2 separate regions of the Homo sapiens genome follow, and region 1 is linked to region 2. Evidence: promoter capture Hi-C in 16 types of primary human blood cells and fetal thymus (Javierre and others, 2016). All regions are on one chromosome and are shown on one strand. The core of a region is centred on a gene start or on the middle of the fragment in contact, and the rest is flanking DNA. Distances in the headings are between cores, read along the strand shown.

Region 1 (7,645 bases), core at 4,942-7,441, 92 kb after region 2:
TTGTACCTCAGTTCCACTTTTCTGGAGCTAGAATAACTGTTCTTTATATACTAGTTAATAAAATCAACAGGTGTTTACTAAGCACTTACTATGTGCCAGTACCATAGGGCTGTAAAGGGAAGTGATTGGTCTCAGTGTTTCTTGGCCTTTTTTGGGGGAATGGGGGAGTACAGCTTATAGACCTTTGAGAATGATAAATTCCTACGCTGTCCTGTATGGTAGCCACTAGCCACATTTGGCTATTACAATTAAAGTTAATTATTGTTAAATATAATTTAAGAAGTTGGTTTCTCAGTTGCAGTAGCCACATTTTAAGTGCTCAATAGCTACATGTAACCAATGGCTACCACATAGAACTCAAATATAGAATGTTTTCATCATCCTAGAAAGTTCTGTGGGACAGTGCTACATGGAGATTCTCCCCAGAATAAAAACACTTTTCTGCCCACATACAATATTTTGCATACAACTGTTACAACTTTGCAGGATCAGGGTCAGGAGGTGGAGGTTGAGGGGGCAGGGAGGCAGGAGTTCACTGATCCCAGAAGCCCATTAATCCAAGAAAAGGAAGCCCTGATATAAAAAGCTGTTTGAAGACTCCATCACAGAATTTAACAAGTTAGTAAAAATAAAGCAACCGAGCTGCTACAAATACAGTATGTTCACTTGAAGTAACTTCATATAAAATCAAGCCCTTGTGTTCCCACCTGTTTGGGCATATTCAAAGAAAACACCAGTTCATTATCTAAAAGTTATTGAAAAATAATGTTAAAGATTTTTTGCAGTCTCTGAAAAAAACACCAGAGGGGAATTATATTCACAATATACTGCAAATCTTGAATTATCTTTCCCATTTTTCTCTTCTCATCCTCCCACACTTGACACTTGCTTTCCTAAAGCTCACCCCCAATTCCAAACTCTCTTCCAAACCTCCTAGTTCTGCTGCTGTTTCTCTTCTTCCTCCCCTGCATGGCTCAGTTCTTTATTATGTAGCTTTCCAGAATATGTTTTATTTTACTCCATCACACAAGTACAGTGGTAGAGAATGACAGAGAAAGCTCCCAGGGTGCTGTGACCAGGAACACGTTTCCCAGTGACTCATTCCATAGCTCTCCTGCCAGGCGGGACCAGTTCCTCATCTTCTCAGATGGTCTACTCCCCCATCACTTCCTCTCTGCCCACTGATACCTAGGGCCAAGGTCTGGGAGGAGCTCATGACTGAGCCTGACAGAGAGGAAAATATTTTGCTGGGATGCCAGAGGGGACTGATGTCACAGAGAAAAGGAGAAAACCAGATGGGCAGGTTTGCAGCATGTTTTATGCCTGGCGTTGTTGGTTTTTTGTTTGTTTTAAATTTTTATTTCAATAGGTTTTTGGGGAACAGGTGGTGTTTGGTTATATGGATAAGTTCTTTAAGTTATTTAGTGGTGATTTCTGAGATTTTCATGCACTCATCACCCGAGCTGTTGTTGGTTTTGGGATTTTTTTTTTTTTTTATGTTGTTTTTTTCAGTTGGGCACTGCCCTACACTCTGGTGGAGAATAAATGGCTTGCTGTGGGAACTGCATTAATTCTTAATAGTCTGCCAACATCAAAGGCTTCTTTTCAGTTTGGTGAAAAGAAGGACAAGCCCATTTCTGTAACAGGATCTCACTCTGTCGCCCAGGCTGGAGTGCAGCGGTGCAATATTGGCTCACTGCAACCTCTGCCTCCTGGGCTTAAGTGATTCTCCCCCCTCAGCCTCCCAAGTAGCTGGGACTATGGGTGTGTGCCACCATGCCCAGCTAATTTTTGTATTTTTTGTAGAGACGGGGTTTTAACATGTTGCCCAGGCTGGTGGTGCCTCAGCTCCTTCTCTCTTCTTCCCTGCTTGAACTCCTTGCCCCAGTCACACCAGTAGGGATTTTCCCTGGTCTGCTACTCTCTCTCCTATTTGGGTGATTTCTCATGGTGTCCTTTTTTATGTTTTGAGACAGAGTCTCACTCTGTTGCCCAGGCTGGAGTGCAGTGGTGCAATCATGGCTAACTACAGCTTCAACCTCCCAGGCTCAAGCAGTCCTCCCACCTCAGCCTCTTAAGTAGCTGGGACTGTCAGGTGCCGTGGCTAATGCCTGTAATCCCAGCACTTTGGGAGGCCGAGATGGGCGGATCACTTGAGCTCAAGAGTTCGAGATCAAGTAGCTGAGACCACAGGTGCACGTTACCATGCCTAGATAATTTTTTAATTTTTTTTTTTTTTTTTTTTTGAGACAGAGTCTCGGTGTTGACCAGGCTGGAGTTCAGTGGCGCAATCTCGGCTCACTGCAACCTCTGCCTCCCGGGTTCAAGCAATTCTCCTGCCTCAGCCTCCAAAGTAGCTGGGATTACAGGTGTGCGCCACCACCTCCGACTAATTTTTGTGTTTTTAGTAAAGATGAGGTTTTGCCATGTTGACCAGGCTGGTCTCGAACTCCTGACTTCAAGTGATCCACCCACCTTGACCTCCCCAAAGTGCTGGGATTACAGGCATGAGCCACTGGGCCTGGCAATTTTTAAGTTTTTTGTAGAGATAGGGGTCTCACTACATTGCCTAGCCTGGTCTCAAACTCCTGGACTCAAGCCATCCTCCTGCCTCAGCCTCCCAAAGTGCTGGGATTACTGCCACTGCACTCAGCAGTCATGCCCTCATTTTTGTCTGAAATGCCCTTCCCTCTTCCCCCTGGTTAACTCCTACTGGTTCTTCAAGACTCTAAACATCTCCTCCCAGAAGCCTTCCTTAGAATCTCTAAGACTGTGGTAGGTGACCCTCCGATGTAGTCTCAAGCAGCTTATCCTTATCACAACTGTACTCTACATGACCGAATAGCAACCTATATACACAACTCAAGGACAGAGCTGTATTATTGCATGCCCTGGGCCTCATACAGGACCTAAATCATAAATAATGTTGAATATCTAGATGAACAAAAAGTTTAAAAGGTGTCCCTGCCTAGAGTCTCTGGCCTTAGCAGAGAATGGAACCTATGAACCCTTTGAACATGAAGTCATAATTGTGGTCTCATTTGTGTTCTAACTGCAAAGGTCAGTACAGGAATAAAGGGGGTTTCATGGATGATCATAAATGCCTCCTAAGGATTTAGCTGTGCTCTATCTAATCCAAGAAGCCTGTACTAACCACATCCCTACATTTTCTGCTGGGTAACTGAACTCCTTTGGAGATTGTATGCTGCAGGACATTGCACAATTAAAGCTGAATTATTATTATTTGCAAGCAGTTTTCCACCTACAGTCCTATTGAGTCACTTAGCTGACTCTATTTCTCTCTCCCTAGGAGACTGCCCAATTGTCTCCAACAGCACTTTTTTTTCCTTTTTTGTCTTTCCAGGCAACAATCACATAGGAGTGGTAGGACTCAGAGAATGGTATTAATACACCTAAGCACACCACCCAAAATGAGAAGGCATCTGGACTTTCGGATGCCTATAGGATATGTAAGCTCCTATAAGGCTGCACACTTAGACTCGAGATCATATTTGGCCAGGGCTCTTTCCTGCTTGTCTAGAGAACAGCTAGATGCTTTACATAATCCAGAATACAACAGATAGTTATAATGGTTTTATTTTAGGAATCATTTATTATGTTTTATTCCAATTATAAAAGTAGTGCATGCTAATTACAATTTGAGAAATACAGAAAAGCATAAATAAAAACATAGAAATCACTGCCATCAAGAGATATCTCCACAACCACAACATTTGGAAAGCTTTTTCTATTTTTTTTTTGTTACAAGCAGCAAATACACTATATATGTGTATACATTAAACACCACTTTCAATTCACTTTAACTGTAAATTACTGTGACTTTAATATCTCTGTCATATTAAAAACATGACTTAATAATTGTGTAACATTCAAAGTTAATGTGTTGAGCCACTCCCTTATTATCAAGTTTAATTTTTTTAATTGCACAGAATGCAATGATAAATATACACATGTAATTTATTATGAGAATCTCTTGCTTATTTCCGTCTGATAAAAATCCTACAAGCAGCTGGGCGCGGTGGCTCACGCCTGTATTCCCAGCACTTTGGGAGGCTGAGGCAGGCGGATCACGAGGTCAGGAGATTGAGATCATCCTGGCTAACACGGTGAAACCCTGTCTCTACTAAAAATATAAAAAAATCAGCCGGGCGTGGTGGCAGGCACCTGTAGTCCCAGCTACTCAGGAGGCTGAGGCGGGAGAATGGCATGAACCTGGGAGGCGGAGCTTGCAGTGAGCCGAGATCACGCCACTGCACTGCAGCCTGGGTGACAGTGTAAGACTCCGTCTCAAAACAAACAAACAAAAAATCCTACAAGCAGAATTACAAGATCGAAGGGTATATGTATATTATGAAAGCCTGATGTATACTATCAACTTGTATTCCAAAAAAGATATACACTCAGTAGTATATGTGGGTGTCTAGTCTTTGGTTTGTTTTGATTTTAAAATGCTCAGATGGTATAATGAGAAATCAACTACCTTCTGATTAAATGTGTGGTTTTAGTCCCTTTTTTTGTTTGTTTTTGTTTTGTCTTGTTTTTGAGACAGAGTCTCCCTCTGTCACCCAGGCTGGAGGAGTGCAGTGGCACAATCTCGGCTCACTGCAACCTCTGCCTCCCAGATTCAAGCGATTCTCGTGCCTCATCCTCCCAAGCAGCTGGGACTACAGGCGTGCCACCAAGCTTGGCTAATTTTTTTTTTTTTTTGTATTTTTAGTAGGGGGGCGGGTCTTGCCATGTTGGCCAGGCTGGTCTTGAACTCCTGGCCTCAAGTGATCCACCCACCTCAGCCTCCTAAAGTGCTGGGATTACAGGCATGAGCCACCACGCCCAGCCAGGTTTCATTTTTAATATGAAAAATCTTTATTTATTTTTGAGACAGTCTCACTCTGTCACCCAGGCTGAAGTGCAGTGGCATGATCTCGGCTCACTGCAACCTTCGCCTCCCGGGCTCAAGCAATTCTCCTGCCTCAGCCTCCCGCGTAACTGGGATTATAGGAACACGCCACCACGCCCAGCTAATTTTTGTATTTTTAGTAGAAACGGGGTTTCCCCATGTTGCCCAGGCTAGTCTCGAACTACTGACCTCAAGTGATCCTCCCGCCTTGGCCTCTCAAAGTGTTGGGATTACAGGCGTGAGCCACCGCACCCAGCCTGAACAATCTTTAGGTTAGGAGTATTCCAGCCGGGCGCCGGGCTCAAGCCGGTAATCCAACACTTTGGGAGGCCAAGGCTGGAGGATCGGTTGAGCCCAGGAGTTCGAGACCAGCCTCTCTACAAAAAAAATAGAAAATAAACTAGCTGGACGCAGCGCAGACCCCTCACGGCGCCCCGAGGTGGGAGGATCACCTGAGTCCAGCGAGATCGAGACTGCAGTGAGCCGTGTTCGCGCCATTGCACTCCAGCCTGAGCAACAGAATAAGACCCTGTATCAAAAACAAACAAAAAGTCTTCTGGTGCAAGGCCTCACTGTAAGGTCCCTGGGTTCAATGCTCCGCGTTCTGGGATGTGAATGTGGAAAAGTAAGTGCCAAGGTGGGTGTCTACCTGAGCTCCATAAGGACTCAGTACTTAGGATGGGAGCATGGCTCTGGGTTCCATTCCTGACCCCTCTGTGGCCTCAGACTCTGCCCGGGAGAGGATGAAAAGCACAAGTCGGATGCACTCTATAGTGATCGCTGTGATACTCATTAAGAGTCTTACTCCCTCGACTCCGACAAACTCAAGGCCAAGCTATGGAGTCCATCTCATGCTGACACCGTCAGTTCTGAGCAACTGTAAAATGGGGACAGGGTGGCCCGGGGGCCTACTGACCTGAGGTGGGGGCCGCGACAGCCCGGCCGCTGCGGGGTCAGCCTGCGGTCTCCGCCTGACTCCAGCTCTCCTGCGCCCCGCAGGCCCTGGGCGCTACCCACGTCAGTGAGTGCTCACAAGTCTGTGAGGTAGGCGGCGCCACAGAGAGAAACTGAGGCGCGGGAGCCCAAGCCACTTGTCCAGCGCCTCAGCCGAGCGCGAACCGCGCTCGGGGATGGCATCCACACGGCCCGGCCCCAGGCTCTCCCTGTCAGCGCCCGAAGGCCCTTCGCACCTCCAGGGGGCGCCGGCCTGCGCGCACGCGCAATGGTCGCAGCCGCGTTCTCTTTAAGAGGACTCCTTTTGCCTCCGCCGACCCCTTCGCTTCCGCTCCGCGTTCCCACAATGCAGTGCGGCTGAGCGCCTCGGAGCCCGCGGGGACGCTGCGGGGGGACCCGTGCTGAGGCGGCGGCGGCGACGTGGGCTGCGGCGGGCCCGCGGCGTCGGGCGGTGCGGATGTCGGGCTGGGCGGACGAGCGCGGCGGCGAGGGCGACGGGCGCATCTACGTGGGGAACCTTCCGACCGACGTGCGCGAGAAGGACTTGGAGGACCTGTTCTACAAGTACGGCCGCATCCGCGAGATCGAGCTCAAGAACCGGCACGGCCTCGTGCCCTTCGCCTTCGTGCGCTTCGAGGACCCCCGGTGAGGCCCCCGCGCCCCTGCCCTCTCCTCCTCGGTGCCTGAGGCCCCCGCCTTCCCTGCTGTCCCCTCCCCCAGGGCTCCCCTCCCCCCGGCCTCCCCTCCCCCCGCCTCCGCGCAGACCCCTCACGGCGCCCCCTCACGGGTGGAGGATGAGGCAGCCTCTCCTCGCAGGCCCGGGCCGTCCTTCGCGCCGTCGTCACTTCCTTTATTTTTATTATTCCAATATTTTACTTAGAAACCCAAAAGCTGAGCCTTTGGAGGGCCCAAGCCCGCCTGCACCGGCCTCGGGGGGTCCAAATGAGCCTTGTCCGCCTCCTGCCTGGGGCAGCACCGTAGGGGGAAGCGGCCGCGGGGCAGCGCGGGGGTCGCCGTTCGCCCTTCCCGCTCGCCTCTCCCCCGGCCCGTGCTCGCCGTGGCTGGAGAGCAAGCTGCAGGGTCGCGGATGCCGCTGGAGGTCGTGGAGGGATCTCTGGTGGAATAGCTCGCCGTTCGCGCGCCCCGCCCCGCAGGCCAGGGCCCGGGCTTTGTAAAGGGATCACGGATTCGGGAAAACTTCTAAAACAGCCGGAGTGGGGCTCTGATTTCACTTCCCTCCTTTGATGAGGGAGGCTTGGCGAGATGCTAAAGGTTCCAGGGATTTGGAAACTCTAGATTCCTAACCCCGCTCTAAGGAGTGCTTGTGATTTTGCAAACAGCGTCGGCCCTCAGGCCGGAAAAAGCCCAGGAACTTTCAAAACTGTGGTTGGTGGTGGTTAGCAGCTGCGGCGCTGACCTGGTCACTCCACTCCGGCCAAATAAGAGCCCGCACCCTGTTTTCCTAGCATCATTTGCTCCCGGGGAACGCGGAATGTTCGTAGGGTGTCCGACCTACCTGGGGTGGACGTATTGATAGGGCAAGGGGAGCATCTGAGGAAGGGCAGGCAGGAAGCACCGCGAGGCGTTGATGGCTGAAGAGTCGACTCTGACAGCTCATCCCTAGTATCTCCTCATTTGCCTCAAAACCGGAACTGGGCATTTTTACCCCTAAGCCGGAGAAGGCTATGCCTCGCTTATTTAGTAACCGTGCCATTGTGGTTTTTCAACAGTTGCTATGGGTCAAGTGCCATGGTGTGTATTTAGCTTTTTTTC
Region 2 (6,909 bases), core at 416-2,915:
AAGATTGTCATCTGCTAACTCCAAGTCATCACAGGCCTCTGGCAACCCCTCAGGCTCTGGTTCAGACACTGCTTCCTCCTCTTCTACCAGAGGGAGAGCAAGAGGTCTAGAAGGAGTGTCCAGAGAACAAACTTCCGTGGTTTCTTCATCGAAGGCAGACAGATACTCCAGCACACCCTGTTGCAGCAAACTCTAAGTCAACAGAAAGGATATCTCCTGCTTTCCGAAAGCAATGTGGCAAATGCAGACCTAAGAGCCAAGCTCCCTAGATGTTTATCTTAGCTGTCGTGTTCACTGATTTAACACCCCTGGGGAAAGAACTAATAACAAGCATACAGAAAATACTCATTGTCCCCTCTTCTCTTGAGAAGGTTTAGATCTCACAGTAATGCCTACCAGCTCAATGACAGCATTTGAGGAACGGCAGCCACTTAGTAACAGGAACACACTAACCTTCCTGGGTTGAAAAACAGACTCCTTCGCCAAGGGAGCCATCAGCACCAGTTGTTCCAGAGCAGCCACAACACCAGTGACCTCCCTTCTGCTTCCGGCCAATCCCGACAGAGCCTCTTCCCGAGTCTAACGTGGCCAGAGAGAACACCAGAGAAGGTTAAGTTTCCAGACACACACTTAGCTTGAAGGGCAAGGGCTTAGAATGGCCTCTCAACAGGACCAAAAGTTAAAAGGCAATGAGACCCAATGGGAAGGAATTAGGTGCTTAAATATCTCAACTTTGAGGGAAACAGGAAGCAAAAAGCATGCAATACCCACTAAGGATTGGAATCTGCTTAGAATCTGACACTGGGGAGTGTAAATTAGTTCAATCATTGTGGAAGACAGTGTGGTGATTCCTCAAAGACCTAAAGACAGAAATAAAATTTCACCCAGCAATCCCATTACTGGGTATATAGCCAAAGGAATATAAATCATTCTACTGTAAAGACACATACGGCCAGGTGTGGTGGCTCATGCCTGTAATCCCAGCACTTTGGGAGACTGAGGTGGGCGGATCACCTGAGGTTGGAAGTTCAAGACCACCCTGACCAACATGGAGAAACCCCATCTCTACTAAAAATACAAAATAACCCAGGCATGGTGGGGCATGCCTGTAATTCCTGCTACTCAGGAGGCTGAGGCAGGAGAATCACTTGAACCTTGGAGGCAGAGGTTGTGATGAGCCGAGATCACGCCACTGCACTCCAGCCTGGGCAACGAGAGCAAAACTCTGTCTCAAAAAAAAAAAAAAAAAAAAGAAAGAAAGAAAAAGAAAAACCAAATATCGCACACATGTTCTCACTTCTAAGTGGGAGCTAAATGATGAAACATGGACACATAGAGGGGAACACACACTGAGGCCTATCAGAGGGTGGAGAGTGGGAGGAGGGAGGGGATCAGGAAAAATAACCAATGGGTACTAAGCTTAATACCTGGGTGAAAATCTGTATAACAAACCCCCATGACACAGGTTTACCATGTAACAACCTGCATTTGTACCCCTGAACTTAAAAGTTAAAAAAAATAAAAGAGAATCTGACACAAACAACACTATACAAAAAACTTCCAGAACAGAAATCTAAGAACATGAAACTAACCTAGTTTTTACAAACTATGCTCAGACAGAGGTCCAGAGTAGTAGGAAGGATTTAGCTAACTCCACCTCAGCCTGGACAGCTCTAATTCTATGTAGCCTTTCTTATGCCTGTAATGGCATTTGAACAAATACGGCTGCAACGTATTATAGAAAGAAAGCAAAAGTTAAATACACAGGACTCTACCCAAGGAGCCCTTGGGAGTCAGGGAGAAGGGAATTCAAATACCAGCTGCATCCCTTACTAGCAAATTACCCAACCCAGGATTCAGTTTCCTCATCCATGAAAGGGGATAGTTCTATCTACCACACTAGAAGCTTAAGTGAGATAAATGTGTATAGCACAAGTCCTATCAAATGCTGATCACTCAATAAATATGGGCTTCTATTGCTCTAAGCTAGATCAGTGGTTCCAGGAGTGTGGTCTGGGGATGAGCAGCCATCAGAATCACCCTAGAACTTGTTATATGCAAATTACTGAGCCTACTGAGCTTAACCTATGCAATCAATATCTCAAAGTGGGACCTAACAACCAGTGGTTGTGATGCTTCAAGAATCTCTGTTGTGGAAGATAAAAGACCCAGGGAATTCTGTTCTTGTGTAATTCTTGCCGTTTCAGGTACTCCTAAGGCATACTGGGCAGGCCATAATACTTTCTCCACAATGTCTTTCAAAACACCTCTAGAATAGAATCTTAAGTATTTTCCCAGAAAACAAAGAACTCTAACTTGCTTTAAGAACATAGCTAATCTAAAAAACTCCACTGTCACAATTAGTTATAAAATCATTTTGACTTGCTCCTTTCAGCTCTAGAAAGAGCTTTAAAAGCCCTAGGTTAAACCTTCTCTACTGTCATCAAACAAAGCCCAAAACAAATTGGCTTTTTTAGCCATTCTCTGCTTATTGTCTTAAATGTGGAATGGAACTAACTTAATCCCCAGCGTCCATCATCTCACCCCCGACAGAGTGAAAAGGTTTAGCATTTCTGGTTTTCACCACAGAACGCCGAGAAAGTGAAAAGGTTTAGCATCTCCAATGCATCCTCTCACCTTGAGCTCCTGGATAGCTGCCTCAATAAAGCAGGACTCGGGAGTGTGCTTCTCCTCTGCCAGCTGCTGCTCTAGTGCTACTTTCTCCTCCAGAACTACCCGGTGCAGCACCTGCTCCTTAGAGGCCAGCAGCAACTTGGAGTACTGGCTGTGCTGTTCATCTATAAGAATGCCAGCAAGATCAAAGAAATGCAACATTCAAAGCTCACGATGGTGTAGCTAAATAGGAATTTTCAAATACAGCCTTTTCTCTGGGGTGAAAATGGGGTAATTTAGCATGATTTCCTAGAAAATAATTTAACAATGGTCTTAAAATAAGGTCTGTAGCTCTGCTCTTGATATAAGAAATCTAAGAAACCCAGAGATGTAGTCAAAACTTTAGTCACGCGTTTATTGTTACAGCATTGTATGTAATATCAGAAAAGCTCAAACCAGCCAGGCACCATGGCTCACACCTGTAATCCCAGCACTTTGGGAGGTCAAGGCGGGTGGATCACTTGAGATCAAGAGTTCGAGACCAGCCTGACCAACATGGTGAAACCCCGTCTCTACTAAAGATACAAAAAAGTTAGTCGGGCCTGGTAGGGCATGCCTGTAATCCCAGCTACTTGGGAGGCTGAGGCAGGAGAATCGCTTGAACCCAGGAGGCAGAGGTCGCAGTGAGCCAAGATCATGCCACTGCATTCCAGCTTGGGCAACAAAAGCGAAACTCTGTCTCAAAAAAAAAAAAAACAAAAAAAACCACACACAGAAAAAGAAAAGCTCAAACCAACCAGTAAAACCAACAATAAAGAATAAAGAAATGGTGGACCAGCGCAGTGGCTCACACCTATAATCCCAGTACTTTGAGAGGCCAAGACAGGAAGATTGCTTGAGTTTAGAAGTTTAAGACCAAGCCAGCTGGGTGTGGTGGCTCACGTTCAGCACTTTGGGAGGCTGAGGCAGGTGGATCACCTGAAGTTAGGAGTTCGAAACCAGCCTGGCCAACATAGAGATACCCTGTTTCTATTAAAAATACAAAAAATTAGCTGGGCGTGGTGACGGGCGCCTATAATCCCAGCTACTAGGGAGGCTGGAGTAAGAAAATCGCTTGAACCCAGGAGGCAGAGGTTTCAGTGAGCCAAGATCGCACCATTGCACTCCAGCCTGGGCAACAAGTGCAAAACTCTGCCTCAAAAAATAAAATTAAAAAAAAATAACACCAGGCGGAGTACGGTGGCTCACACCTGTAATCCCAGCACTTTGGGAGGCTGAGGTAGGCGGATCACAAGATCAAGAGATTGAGACCATGCTGGCCAACATGGTGAAACCCCGTCTCTACTAAAAATACAAAAACTAGCCAGGTGTGGTGGTGCGTGCCTGTAATCTCAGCTACTCAGGACGCTGAGGCAGGAGAATCTCTTGAACCTGGGAGGCGGAGATTGCAGTGAGCCGGGATTGCACCACTGCATTCCAGCCTGGCAACAGAGTGAGACTCCATCTCAAAACAAAAACAAAAACAAAAAAAGCACAACACACACACACAAAAAAAACAAAAATTAGCCGGGCGTGGTGGCAGGTGCCTGAAATGCCAGCTACTCAGGAAGCTGAGGAAGGAAAATCGTTTGAACCGAGGAGGTGGAGGTTGCAGTGAGCCGAGATCACACCATTGCACTCCAGCCTGGGAAACACAGCAAGACTCCGTCTCAAAAAAAAAAAAAAAAAAAAAAAGAGTAGTTCAAGACCAGCCTATCAACATAGCAAGACCTCATCTCTGCTAAAAATAAAAATAAAAAATTAACTATACCTGCATGCCCAGTTAATTTTTTAAAATAAAAAAAATAATTTAAAATTAAAAGTTAATTTAATTAATTAAATTAATTTTAATTATTTTAATGAATTTAATTAATTAAAAGTAATTATTGCCACTGCACTCCAGCCCAGGCGACAAAGTGAGATTCCATCTCAAATAAAGGGTTAATGACATGATGGTATGTTCATTAACGAAAATTCTGTGGACACTAAAAGTGGTTTTCTTGGCCGGTCACAGTGGCTCACGCCTGTAATCCCAGCACTTTGGGAGGTAAGGCGGGCAGATCACTTGAGCTCGGGAGTTCGAGACTAGCCTGCCAACATGGTGAAACCCCGTCTCTACTAAAAATACAAAAAAAATCAGCCAGGCATGGTGGCGGGCGCCTGTAGTCCCAGCTACTCGGGAGGCTGAGGCACGAGAATCGCTCAAACCCGGGAGGCAGAGGTTGCAGTGAGCCAAGATCATGCCACTGCACTCCAGCCTGGGTGACAGAGCCAGACTCTGTCTCAAAAAAAAATATATATATACATATTATATTATATATCTATAAATAAAATAAAAATAAAATTTATCAGTCTTTTACAGCATCTATCATTTCAGCCTGGTTCAAAAATCCACCCATATCTGAGGATTTTTTTTTAATTAATACACATTTTTAATGTTTTAAGTTGCTAAACATTTAAACAGTCAAAATCACTAGGAAAAAAATATTACACACACACATTTACCACCCAAATGAGAACACACAATCCTTCAGACAGATGCACATCTGAGGATTTATAAAGAAATTGTCCTATATTTTCTTTTAAATAAAAAGGTTAAAACTTTTGGATTTTTTACATTTACTTCTTCAATCTATCTGGAATTAATTTCATGAATGGTATGAAATAGGAATCTAATTTTATTTTTTCCTTAGGGAGAATCAATTGTTTCAATACCATTTATTGAGAAATCTATCTTTTCCCCAGAGACTGAAATGCTATTTTAATCAAATGCTCATTTCTGCATGAAACACAGGGAATACATCTCTGGCATTCATTGTGAGCACTTATCACACTCTTTATCCTAATGGCCAGTCTACCAGTCTGTCTCTTCTATCGGACTACTGAGTTTCTTGACGACAGGCACCAAGACTGGCTGACCACAGAACCTCTAAGATTGGGCACAGTGAAAGACACTATGTAATAAAACCTTGTAAAATGAAAAATTAGGATGTATAGATTAAACAAACTTGAAACCAATAATTAATCTACTCTCTACAAACCCCACCCTAACCTACTGGAATCCTATGACTAATATGAACATGCCAGATGTGCCCTGCCCAAAGGCTTCACTTTCTGATGCTTAGATATATTCAATCACCTTAAAGAATGTACCCAGGATTATTTGTCCCCAAAATTTAAAGAACTCACCTCCTAGATGAATGGGATGGTCTACATTCATCCATTTGGATTTGGGCAAAGCCACCAACACCCCTTTCTCCCTCTTCATCAGCTGCATCGTAATGGTATCACCAACAACATACTGATGTGACTCTGTGGCAACAACACTGAAACATGGACACTCATATGTAGCAGGGCAAGGAGTGAAGAGATTGGGATCTAACTGAGTAAATGTCTCAATCTCACCTCTTGAGATCCTTCTTATGCACAGAACTGTAACAGATGGGACATTTACTCCACGTCTTCTCACTCAGTGAAAGATAGTGCAGGATGCATGCCCAGCAGAAGATGTGTCCACAACGGGTTATCTTGGCTGCAGTAGGTGGATAGAGGCATATTGGGCAAGATGGCACTTCATGGCTACAAATGCGCTGAAACAAAATGCCACCAGAAGGTTCACTGCTTGAAGAACTGATTAGGGACTGTCAAAGTTTTAGGCCTCTCTACTCTCTCATCCGCATCTCTCTCATCTCTATCCCCGTACATCCTTATACTCAACATATCTTTCTAAAATTGTTTACAACGTAGGTACATGTATGATCATTTTTTTCTTTTTTTTTTTTTTTTGAGACGGTCCATCTCCTTGGTTCACGCCATTCTCCTGCCTCAGCCTCTGGAGTAGCTGGGACTACAGGCGCCTGCCACCACGCTCAGCTAATTTTTTAGTAGAGACGGGGTTTCACTGTGTTAGCCAGGATGGTCTTGATCTCCTGACCTTGTGATCCGCCCGCCTCGGCCTCCCAAAGTCCTGGAATTACCGGCGTGAGCCACCGCGCCTGGCTTTGTATGATAGCTCTTTAAGCAAAGCATCAAGGAAACCATAATAACCGTTAAATATAATAAAACTAATACACAACAGGTATGTTGGGGGTTCTACATTAAATAGAAAAAAGTGACAAATCACTATATTCCCATTTATAAAAAAACTTAATATGTATGCATAAAGGCCTAAAAAGGGTCTAGAAGTAATCTACCAGTAACTTCCAACAAAGAACGCATTAAAAAGACTTCATTTTTTTTTAATAAAACTTAAGTTTT

The links. The method cuts DNA at HindIII sites, captures the fragments that hold promoters and counts their contacts. A CHiCAGO score of 5 or more calls a contact.
Region 1: a contact is called between the fragment with the promoter of SRSF9 here and a fragment that was not itself captured in region 2, in 3 of 17 cell types (M2 macrophages, erythroblasts and M1 macrophages). The highest score is 7.4, in M2 macrophages.

Annotation. Positions count from the first base shown.
Region 1 is chr12:120,468,294-120,475,938 of GRCh38, reverse strand. It overlaps SRSF9 (serine and arginine rich splicing factor 9), which reads left to right and starts at 6,191. Exons shown (of 4, transcript NM_003769.3): 1 at 6,191-6,517. The coding sequence starts at 6,330. It also overlaps a transcript of DYNLL1 not described here. RefSeq lists silencers at 6,233-6,532, 6,783-6,952. The HindIII fragment of the contact is 9,777 bases long and covers 4,707-7,645 here.
Region 2 is chr12:120,556,615-120,563,523 of GRCh38, reverse strand. RNF10 (ring finger protein 10) reads right to left here. Exons shown (of 17, transcript NM_014868.5): 5 at 6,058-6,242; 6 at 5,842-5,978; 7 at 2,638-2,798; 8 at 454-579; 9 at 1-177. Among named protein-coding and RNA genes, the nearest start is that of POP5, 21 kb to the left of the region's middle. The HindIII fragment of the contact is 487 bases long and covers 1,422-1,908 here.